Linked DNA regions of Homo sapiens: region 1 is linked to region 2. The links are contacts of gene promoters, found by promoter capture Hi-C in human tissues and cell types (Jung and others, 2019). All regions are on one chromosome and are shown on one strand. Each heading gives the region's core, a stretch centred on a gene start or on the middle of the fragment in contact. The rest is flanking DNA. Distances are from core to core; before and after follow the strand shown.

Region 1 (4,209 bases), core at 1,590-4,089, 590 kb before region 2:
GGTCACCGAGATGCTCTGAGTTTCCGGTCTGAACCTGAACGTAAAGAGGTGTAGTCCCTCCTTTCTTGAACGGGAAAACTGAACGCACATAGGTCCTTGCCACGCCTAAGGCTGCGGAGTGAGCAGATGGAAAATGCGGGACTCAAAACCTCCCCTCGCTGTAATTTGCACTGCCCTGTGCCAAACTCTGTCCTTTCTTCCATTCCTTATTCCTATTGTCAGCCTCGCTGCGCTAGGACCCTAAAAATTTGGTCTCATGTTGCCCGGGGAACAACATTTCGCTACACCTACCTCCATACCGCCTCCCGCTCCCGCTCTCCCTTGCACCAGCCAATGGAAGCGAGTATCTTCAGACGGTGGGCAGGACGTATCCTAAGATACCCAATGGTGGTCGAGAATAGTTGAGCACTTTACTAGTCAAGCCGCGGAGTGGGCGGGGCCCCCTGCCCAGACTTGAAGCCACACAGGCAGGTCGGGCAGGCGGGTCGCAGGTTGTAAATCCATGTGGCGGGGGCTTTGGACCCTGGCGGCCCAAGCGGCACGTGGGCCTCGCAGGTGGGGCTACAGGGGAAGGGGTGCGACAGCTTGGGGTGCTGCTTGGACCCCAGACCCACTCCCTGGGTTTTAGGGGCCCAATTCCCTGCGGCAGAGCAATCATTCGCGTTCTTCCGTGCCTCAATCGTTCATGACCCTTGCGGCAGAGCCCATATCTGGGTCTCCTTCTGGCCTCACAGTCCCTAATCCGGTCACCCTTCGGCCTTCAGAACATCCAATTTGTGCATCCCCCAGCCGCAGAACCCCCCCACCTGGAGCATCTCGCGATCATCGAGCCCTCGGTCTACTTGACACTGAGGCTGAGCCTCCCAGGTGCGCTGATTCGCCTCCCCTCCGGTTCCAGATTGTGCACGCGCCGGAGCAGCGGCGCACCAGCCCCCGGCTCCGGCGCCACCATCTTCGCGCTAAGCTCTGGCCAAGGCCGCTGCGGCATCGCAGTGATCCGGACCAGCGGCCCCGCCAGCGGCCACGCCCTCCGAATTCTCACAGCACCCCGAGACCTGCCCCTTGCTCGCCACGCCAGCCTGCGCCTGCTCAGCGATCCCCGCTCCGGGGAGCCTCTGGACCGCGCACTGGTGCTCTGGTTCCCAGGTGAGGGTCCCCAGGTTCCGAGCCTCCTGTAGGTCCCATGACTCAGTTTCCCCCTTCCAAGGGTTTGCACTGGCTGTGCTGTCCTCCTGTCACCTGTCTGTCACATTAGGTCCCCAGAGTTTCACCGGTGAGGACTGCGTGGAGTTCCACGTGCATGGAGGCCCGGCAGTGGTGAGCGGCGTCCTGCAGGCCTTGGGTGAGTTGCAGCGTTGGGTGAGATGCTTGGTCCTCCCAATGGGCCTGGGTGGGGACCAGGGGGTGTCAGACTGGGACCTTCCTGCAGGCAGCGTGCCAGGGCTTCGACCGGCGGAGGCAGGCGAGTTCACCAGACGGGCGTTCGCCAATGGGAAGCTGAACCTGACCGAAGTGGAGGGGCTGGCGGACCTTATCCACGCGGAAACAGAGGCGCAGCGGCGGCAGGCCCTCAGGCAGCTGGACGGAGAGCTGGGCCACCTCTGCCGTGGCTGGGCCGAGACCCTCACCAAAGCAAGTCCCCCATTTGTCCATTCTCTCCCTCAGAGACCCCATCTGTGCAACCCCTGCATGAGACCCCCTCTCAATCCCGCATTCATTCCCTGCGTGAAAGCTTCCGGCCTATGAGCCGCCATTCTGGCCCCTGAAGTCGGGCTGGACAAATTGGGTGTGGGAAGGTGGGTTTCTGGGTGCACACACCACCTCTGCTCTCCCTGCCCCGCCAGGCTCTGGCCCACGTGGAGGCCTATATCGATTTCGGCGAGGATGACAACCTGGAGGAGGGGGTCCTGGAGCAAGGTGGGTCTACCTGGTGGTGGGGGAGGAAGACACCTCATATCAGCCCTCAAAGGCTCCCCTCACTGTCTCTCTCTGCCTGCCTTCTCTCACCCACAGCCGACATCGAAGTACGGGCACTGCAGGTGGCCCTGGGTGCACATCTACGAGATGCCAGGCGCGGGCAGAGGCTCCGCTCAGGGGTGCACGTAGTGGTCACTGGACCCCCCAATGCGGGCAAGAGCAGCCTAGTGAACCTGCTCAGTGAGTAGGCGGCGGGAAGGGGGCGGGGCCTAGTGCCAGGGGCGGGGCCAAGAGCTGGGTTATTGAGTTAGTTGTTCAGGTCTAAAGCTCCCTCCAGACATGGGGTAGAACCTGGGGGAGGAGCTCCCTTGTCTCCACCCTCTCCTCTTCTTCTGACCCTCCCCCAGGTCGGAAGCCTGTGTCCATCGTGTCCCCGGAGCCAGGGACCACCCGTGACGTGCTGGAGACCCCAGTCGACCTGGCCGGATTTCCTGTGCTGCTGAGCGACACGGCTGGGTTGCGGGAGGGCGTGGGGCCCGTGGAGCAGGAGGGCGTGCGGCGCGCCCGGGAGAGGTGGGCGGACAGGGTGGTGATGGGAGGGGAACGCGGGGCCCTTTCTCTGCCTTTTCTCCCTGTTGCGTTTATTTTTCATTCTTCCTGAATCAGAGAACCTGCTAAGCCCTATCAAGCATGGATCTCAGGGATTTGGTTCTTTTTTTTTTTTTTTTTTTTTACTCCGAGACCGAGTCTTGCTCTGTCGCCCAGGCTGGAGTGCAGTGGCGGTATCTCAGCTCACTGCAAGCTCTGTCTTCCGGGTTCAAGCAAGTCTCCTGCCTCAGCCTCCCAAGTAGCTGGGATTACAGGCGGGAGCGACCACGCCGAACTATTTTTTTTTTTTTTTTGTATTTTTAGTAGAGATGAGGTTTCACTATGTTGGCCAGGTTGGTCTCTAACTCCTGAGCCTCGGCCTCCCAAAGTGTTGTGAGCCCACCGCACCTGGCCTGGTGTTTTGTTTTTGTTTTTGAGACGGAGTTTCGCTCTTGTTGCCCAGGCTGGAGTGTGCAGTGGTACAATCTCGGCTCACTGCAACCTCCGCCTCTCGGGTTCAAGTGATTCTTCTGCCTGGGCCTCCCGAGTAGCTGGGATTAGAGGCGCCCACCACAATGCCAGGCTAATTTTTTGTATTTTTAGTAGAGATGGGGGTTTCACCATGTTGGCCAGGCTGGTCTCGAACTCCTGATCTCAGGTGACCCGCCTGCCTCGGCCTCCCAAAGTGCTGGGATTACAGGCGTTAGCCACTGTGCCCGGCCAGTGATTTAGTTCTGATTAAGTCCTGCCCCCGGCCCTCCGGACATGTTTCTCATCCCTAAGCCCTCCGCCCAGCCCTCACGTTCTGCCCCGCCCTCTCGTGCTCTGTCCCGCCCTGGCACTCCGCTCTGCCCCTTGCGGTCTATCCCATCCCCTGTGCTCTGTCCACCCCCTACATTCTGCCCCACCCCTGGTGCTCTCTACCCCTTACCCTGTGGTGTGTCTGGTCCTTCTTGCTCTGCCCCGCCACTCATGGTCGCCCCACTCCAGTGCTGTACCCGGCCCCTTTTGCTCTGTCCCAGCCCCTGTGCTGTGCCCTGTCCCTCTTGCTCTGCTCTTCCCCCTGCACAGTGCTCTGCCCCTCTTGCTCTGCCCCGCCCTCCTGTGCTGTGCCCCGCCCCTCCTGCCCTGCCCTACTCACTGCACTGTGCCCAGCCCCTCCTGCTCTGCCCCGCTCCCGCACCGTGACCGCTCCTCTTGCTCTGCCCTTCCCCCTGCACTGTGCCCCGCCCCTCTTGCTCTGCCCCACCCCCTGTGCTCGGCTTGGGCCCCCAACATTCTGCCGGTCCCCTGGTACTCTACTCCTCCCTCCCGACCTCACGCTTCGCAGCTCCCCCAGTGCTCTGCCTGGCCCCTCTAACTGTCCCTCCACCCAGTGCCTTCAATTGCTCAACCTGGGATCCCCGCTCAGTTGACCTTGCTCCCGCAGGCTAGAGCAGGCTGACCTCATTCTGGCCATGCTGGATGCTTCTGACCTGGCCTCTCCCTCCAGTTGCAACTTCCTGGCCACCGTCGTAGCCTCTGTGGGAGCCCAGAGCCCCAGTGACAGCAGCCAGCGCCTCCTCCTGGTGCTGAACAAGTCGGACCTGCTGTCCCCGGAGGGCCCAGGTCCCGGTCCTGACCTGCCCCCGCACCTGCTGCTGTCCTGTCTGACGGGAGAGGGGCTGGACGGCCTCCTGGAGGCGCTGAGGAAGGAGCTAGCTG
Region 2 (4,682 bases), core at 1,710-4,209:
ATCTCTTTTTTTTTTTTTGAGATGGAGTCTTGCTCTGTCCCCCAGGCTGGAGTACAGTGGTGTGTTCTCCGCTCACTGCAAGCTCTGCCTCCCGGGTTCACGCCATTCTCCTGCCTCAGCCTCCTGAGCAGCTGGGACTACAGGCGCCCACCACCACACCCGGCTAATTTTTTGTATTTTTAGTAGAGATGGGGTTTCACCGTGTTAGCCAGGATGGTCTCGATCTCCTGACCTCGTGATCTGCCTGCCTTGGCCTCCCAAAGTGCTGGGATTACAGGCGTGAGCCACCGCGCCCGGCCTTTAATAATCTTTTTACCTAGAAGGCGGGGGAACCTGCTGGGAATTGGCGAAAACTAGCAGTCACGCCCTTTGGCCAGGAGATGGGGAGGTTTGGCCATTTTTGTGGTTTGGACAATGCTCTTGTATTCACCTGTGCTAAGACTCGATTACGGAAGGGTTTTGTTTTTCTGCGGCCAAGTGTGACTGGTCTGAGTGTCCCTGTCTGATGTGGACATTCCGTGAAATTGGTTTGGTCAATCAAAAAACTCTACAGTTTAGCTGTGACTGCCAGGCCAACTGCTAGCTGACTGTGTGTGGTCCAGGGCTACTTTTATCTTCCTCACTTTATATTCACCTCCTCACCTTTGCATATACTGTTCCCTCTGCCCAGAACACCTTTCCCTCTCTTTTTCACTCAGCTCTTTCCTTCTCAAGCTTCAGAGCTCTCCTTAAATGCCACCACCTCTGAGAAGCCCTCTTTGATCACCCAGGCTGTGGGCCTCCACAACCCTATTTCAACCCCAGGCACATCTTTTAGTCACAATTACGATTATTATTTTATTGTTATTATTATTATTATTACTTTTGAGACAGAGTCTTACTCTGTCACCCAGGCTGCAGTGCAGTGGCGTGATCTCAGCTCACTGCAACCTCTGCCTCCCAGGTTCAAGCGATTCTCCTGCCTCAGCCTCCCAAGTAGCTGGGATTACAGGCGCATGCCACCACGCCTGGGTAATTTTTAGATGGGGTTTCACCATGTTAGCCAGGCTGGTCTTGAACTACTCACCAAGTGATCTGCCCGCCTCAGTCTCCTGAAGTGCTGGGATTACAGCTATAAGCCACCACGCCTGGCCTTTATTATTATTATTTATTTATTTATTTTGAGATGGAGTTGCACTCTGTAGCCCAGGCTGGAGTGCAATGGCACGATCTCGGCTCATTGCAATCTCTGCCTCCTGGGGTCAAGTGATTCTCCTGCCTCAGCCTCCCAAGTAGCTGGGATTACAGGCATGTGCCACCACGCCCAGCTAATTTTTGTGTTTTTAGTAGAAACAGGGTTTCACCATGTTGGTCAGACTGGTCTCAAACTCCTGACCTCAGGTGATCTGCCTGGCTCGGCCTCCCAAAGTGCTAGGATTACAGGCGTGAGCCACCATGCCTGGCCTTTATTAGTATTTTTTAAGAGAGGTTCCTTCACCCAGGCTGGCTGGAGTGCAGTGGCGCTATCATACCTCACTGCACCCTCCAACTTCTGGGCTCAAGTGATTCTCTTGAATGGGAGGATGAGCATGCCACCACGCCCAGCTAATGTTTTTATCTTCTGTCGAGATGGGGTCTCATAATGTTGCCCAGGCTGCTTTCAAACACCTGGCCTCAAGCGATCCTCCCACCTTAGCCTTCCAAAGGGTTGGGATCACAGGCATGTGCCACTGCGACCAGCCAGGATAATAATCTTTCATGTGATTTTCCGACTTTAAGCCCCCTGCACCCAGAGACCTTTCTGTCTCATGCCTGAAGGGAAGGAACTGGCCACGGAAAAACCTGGGAAATTCCTGGGGGAACTCCCTGAGGCAAGACTGCGCCTGGCAATTTGTAAGAAGGGGGCTGGTGCGACCTGAGCAGAGAGCTAATGGGAGGGTGAGGGAAGCCAAGGGAGATGGGGTGGGAGGTGGGAGGAGTCTTGCGGGACAATGGGAACCCAGGGGAGGCGTTAGAGCAGGGGAGGTGCATCGCGCACTGGGATTTAGGTCCCAGCAAGGTCGCTGGGGGGATGCCTTTTAGGGAATGGACTCTGTGGTCAACTACTCCTACCTGAACTGCCCCCAAAGCATTTGCTTTTCCCTCTCCACAGTCAGGACCAGTGTAACCTTAGACCCCTAATACTGCCATTTTTACTGTTGAGAACACCGAGAAGTAGTAAATGCAGAAAATCTAAAGTATAGTGCCTAAGACAAATTGGCGCCTCAAACCTAATTTCTAAATAAAATTAATAAATAATATTGCAGAAGTGGGGAGCAGGTCAGCAATCCAGGAAGAGGCACTGGCAGGAGCAAGAGACGGAATTTGAGCCTACTCGCGGTTATGAGCCTACTCGCGGTTACATTTTGGCCAAACTCAATTCCTGGTCTCTCTGAGCCTCGGTTTCCCTACCTGGACTGCGCGGTGTGTGTTAATTTCTCTGCCCCATTTATCTCCCCTCTCCTAGCCCCGCCCCAGCGTCACCAGTGGGACGCAGAGACTCAGGACTAGGAAAGCACTTTTAAAGCGTTAAGGGATTGCGAAGAGCTACGGAGAGGCTTCCTCAGGGCTATACTGGGTCCACCTCCCCTCATGGACCGCGGGCGCGCTCTGGCGGCCGGGCCGCTCCAGGCTGAAGCCGCCGGACCACGTGTGTAGTCGCAGCTGCCATCTTTCATCCGGGCATCGGCCATCTTGGTAAAGGCAATGTTCTAGATTTTCGCCTCTGCCCGCCCCTCCTGGTTCATCAACATATTAAATGAGCGTAGGGAATGAGGGCGTATTAAGTGTCCTCTTTTTGAAGAGACAAAGAAGTGGCTGACTACCCTGGCTTGGGTCCGAGGCCCAGCCATCTTTTTCTTTACCAAAATGGCGGCGGTACTGAGGCGCAATGAGTGCGCGCCGCCAGGAGCTCAGCGCGCAGGCCCCATGATGACGTCACGGAGGCGCGACCGGGCCGGCGCTGGGGTAAGAAGGTAGGAGCGTCTGCGGCGCGGGCGGAACCCGGGTTCGGGGAGCAGAGGCGCGGGGCGGGGGCTGCTTGGCCTGGGACCATCCCCTGGGAAGGCTGGAGGAGGGGTGCTGGGAGGCAGGAGCACTTCTGGCGTCCAGTCTGAACCGCACCTAGTTGGGGGCGATGCCCATTTCCAGACTAGACGATTGAAGCCCGACGCGACAGCATGTTCGAGGCCACCTGGCCCCGGACTGCCCCTAGGCAGCTTCTGGTCTCGAGAGGGACAGAGTTGGGCGCGGACTCCCCCGGCCTCTTGTAGGGGGATTAGTGGTGGGGGACTTCAAAAGGGATAGCCGGGAGGGCTGCTTAGAGGAGGCATTGTTGAATTTTGTATTCTGTTATTTTACCTTCACATCCGTGGGGTCTTAATCCCCATGGGTCTTGATTCGCTTCTAAGTGTGCCCCTCGCCCAGCCTGAGCCACTCCCTGGGTACCGCCTGGGCTCCCAGCTCCTGCCATCTGGGGAGTCCACCTCCTCACTAACCCCAGAGGGCTTGTGTGACCCATAGATTGGGCTTCCCGGCTCTAACGCCCTCCACACCTTCCCATCTCCCTGGAATACAAATCGCCCCCTTTTCCAGCCTACCTCCTGCATCCCGCGTGCAGGCTGCGCTCTCCCCCACTCATTCAGACTTTTCCTTAGATGTCTCCTTTAGGAAGCCCTTTGACCCAGGCTGGGTCAGAAGCCCTCTCCGGGCTTCCCCGGCGCCCTGCGTGTCCTTATTAGGACTCTGATTGCATGTGTTGGCTCTTCTCTGGGAGTCCCATGCAGGCAGAAAGCTCATTTGTGCCACCTCTTTCCCCAGCATCGCACACGTATTAGGTGCCCAGTACATATTTATTGAATGACGTGTGCAAGTGAGTGAGTGTTTACTACACAGAGAAAAGTGTCTGTATTTCCAGCTTGGGCTGTCATAACTAATACCACAGACTGGGTGGCTTAAACAGCAGAAATTGCCAGGCACTGTGGCTCACACCTGTAATCCAGGCACTTTGAGAGGCCGAGGCAAGCGGATCACTTGAGGTCAAGAGTTTGAGACCAGCCTGGCCAACATAGTGAAACCCCGTCTCTACTAAAAATACAAAAATCAGATAGGCATGGTGGCACATGCCAACATGGTGAAACCCCATCTCTATAAAAATACAAAAATTAGCCGGGCGTGGTGGCAGGTGCCTGTAATCCTAGCTGCTTGGGAGGCTGAAACAGGAGAATTGCTTGAACCGGGTGGGTGGAGGTTGCAGTGAGCCGAGATTGTGCCACTGCATTCCAGCCTGGGTGAAAGAGCAAAACTCCGTCTCAAAACAAAAAAAAGCCCCAACGTGGAAACAGCCCAAATGTCTAGCTGTGGACAATGGATAAACAAAATGTGGCGTATCCATGCAGTGGAGGAATATTCAGCCATAAAAAGGAACGAAGGGCCAGGCGCAGTGGCTCAGGCCTGTAATCCCAGCACTTTGGAAGGCCGAGGCGGGAGGATCACTTGAGCCCAGGAGTTCAAGGCCAGCCTGGGCAACATAGTCAGACCCTGCCTTAAAAAAAAAAAAAAAAAGCTAGGCATGGTGGCCTGCACCTATAGTCCCAGCTACTTAGGAGGCTCAGGTGGGAGGATCACTTGAGCCCAGGAGGTCAAGGCTGCAGTAAGCCGAGATT

The links. Contacts are between HindIII fragments. The study calls those that stand out against the background at their distance.
Region 1: a contact is called between a fragment that was not itself captured here and the fragment with the promoter of CCDC124 in region 2, in 1 of the 25 tissues and cell types used here (dorsolateral prefrontal cortex).

Annotation. Positions count from the first base shown.
Region 1 is chr19:17,337,110-17,341,318 of GRCh38, forward strand. It overlaps GTPBP3 (GTP binding protein 3, mitochondrial), which reads left to right and starts at 444. Exons shown (of 9, transcript NM_032620.4): 1 at 444-555; 2 at 899-1,146; 3 at 1,256-1,342; 4 at 1,430-1,632; 5 at 1,845-1,917; 6 at 2,014-2,157; 7 at 2,325-2,490; 8 at 3,935-4,209. The coding sequence starts at 503. RefSeq lists enhancers at 1-84, 85-756, 757-1,428. The HindIII fragment of the contact is 4,795 bases long and covers 443-4,209 here.
Region 2 is chr19:17,930,056-17,934,737 of GRCh38, forward strand. CCDC124 (coiled-coil domain containing 124) reads left to right here and starts at 2,960. Exons shown (of 5, transcript NM_001136203.2): 1 at 2,960-2,993. RefSeq lists enhancers at 2,038-2,576, 2,723-2,782, 2,803-2,992 and a silencer at 3,073-3,122. The HindIII fragment of the contact is 29,527 bases long and covers 1-4,682 here.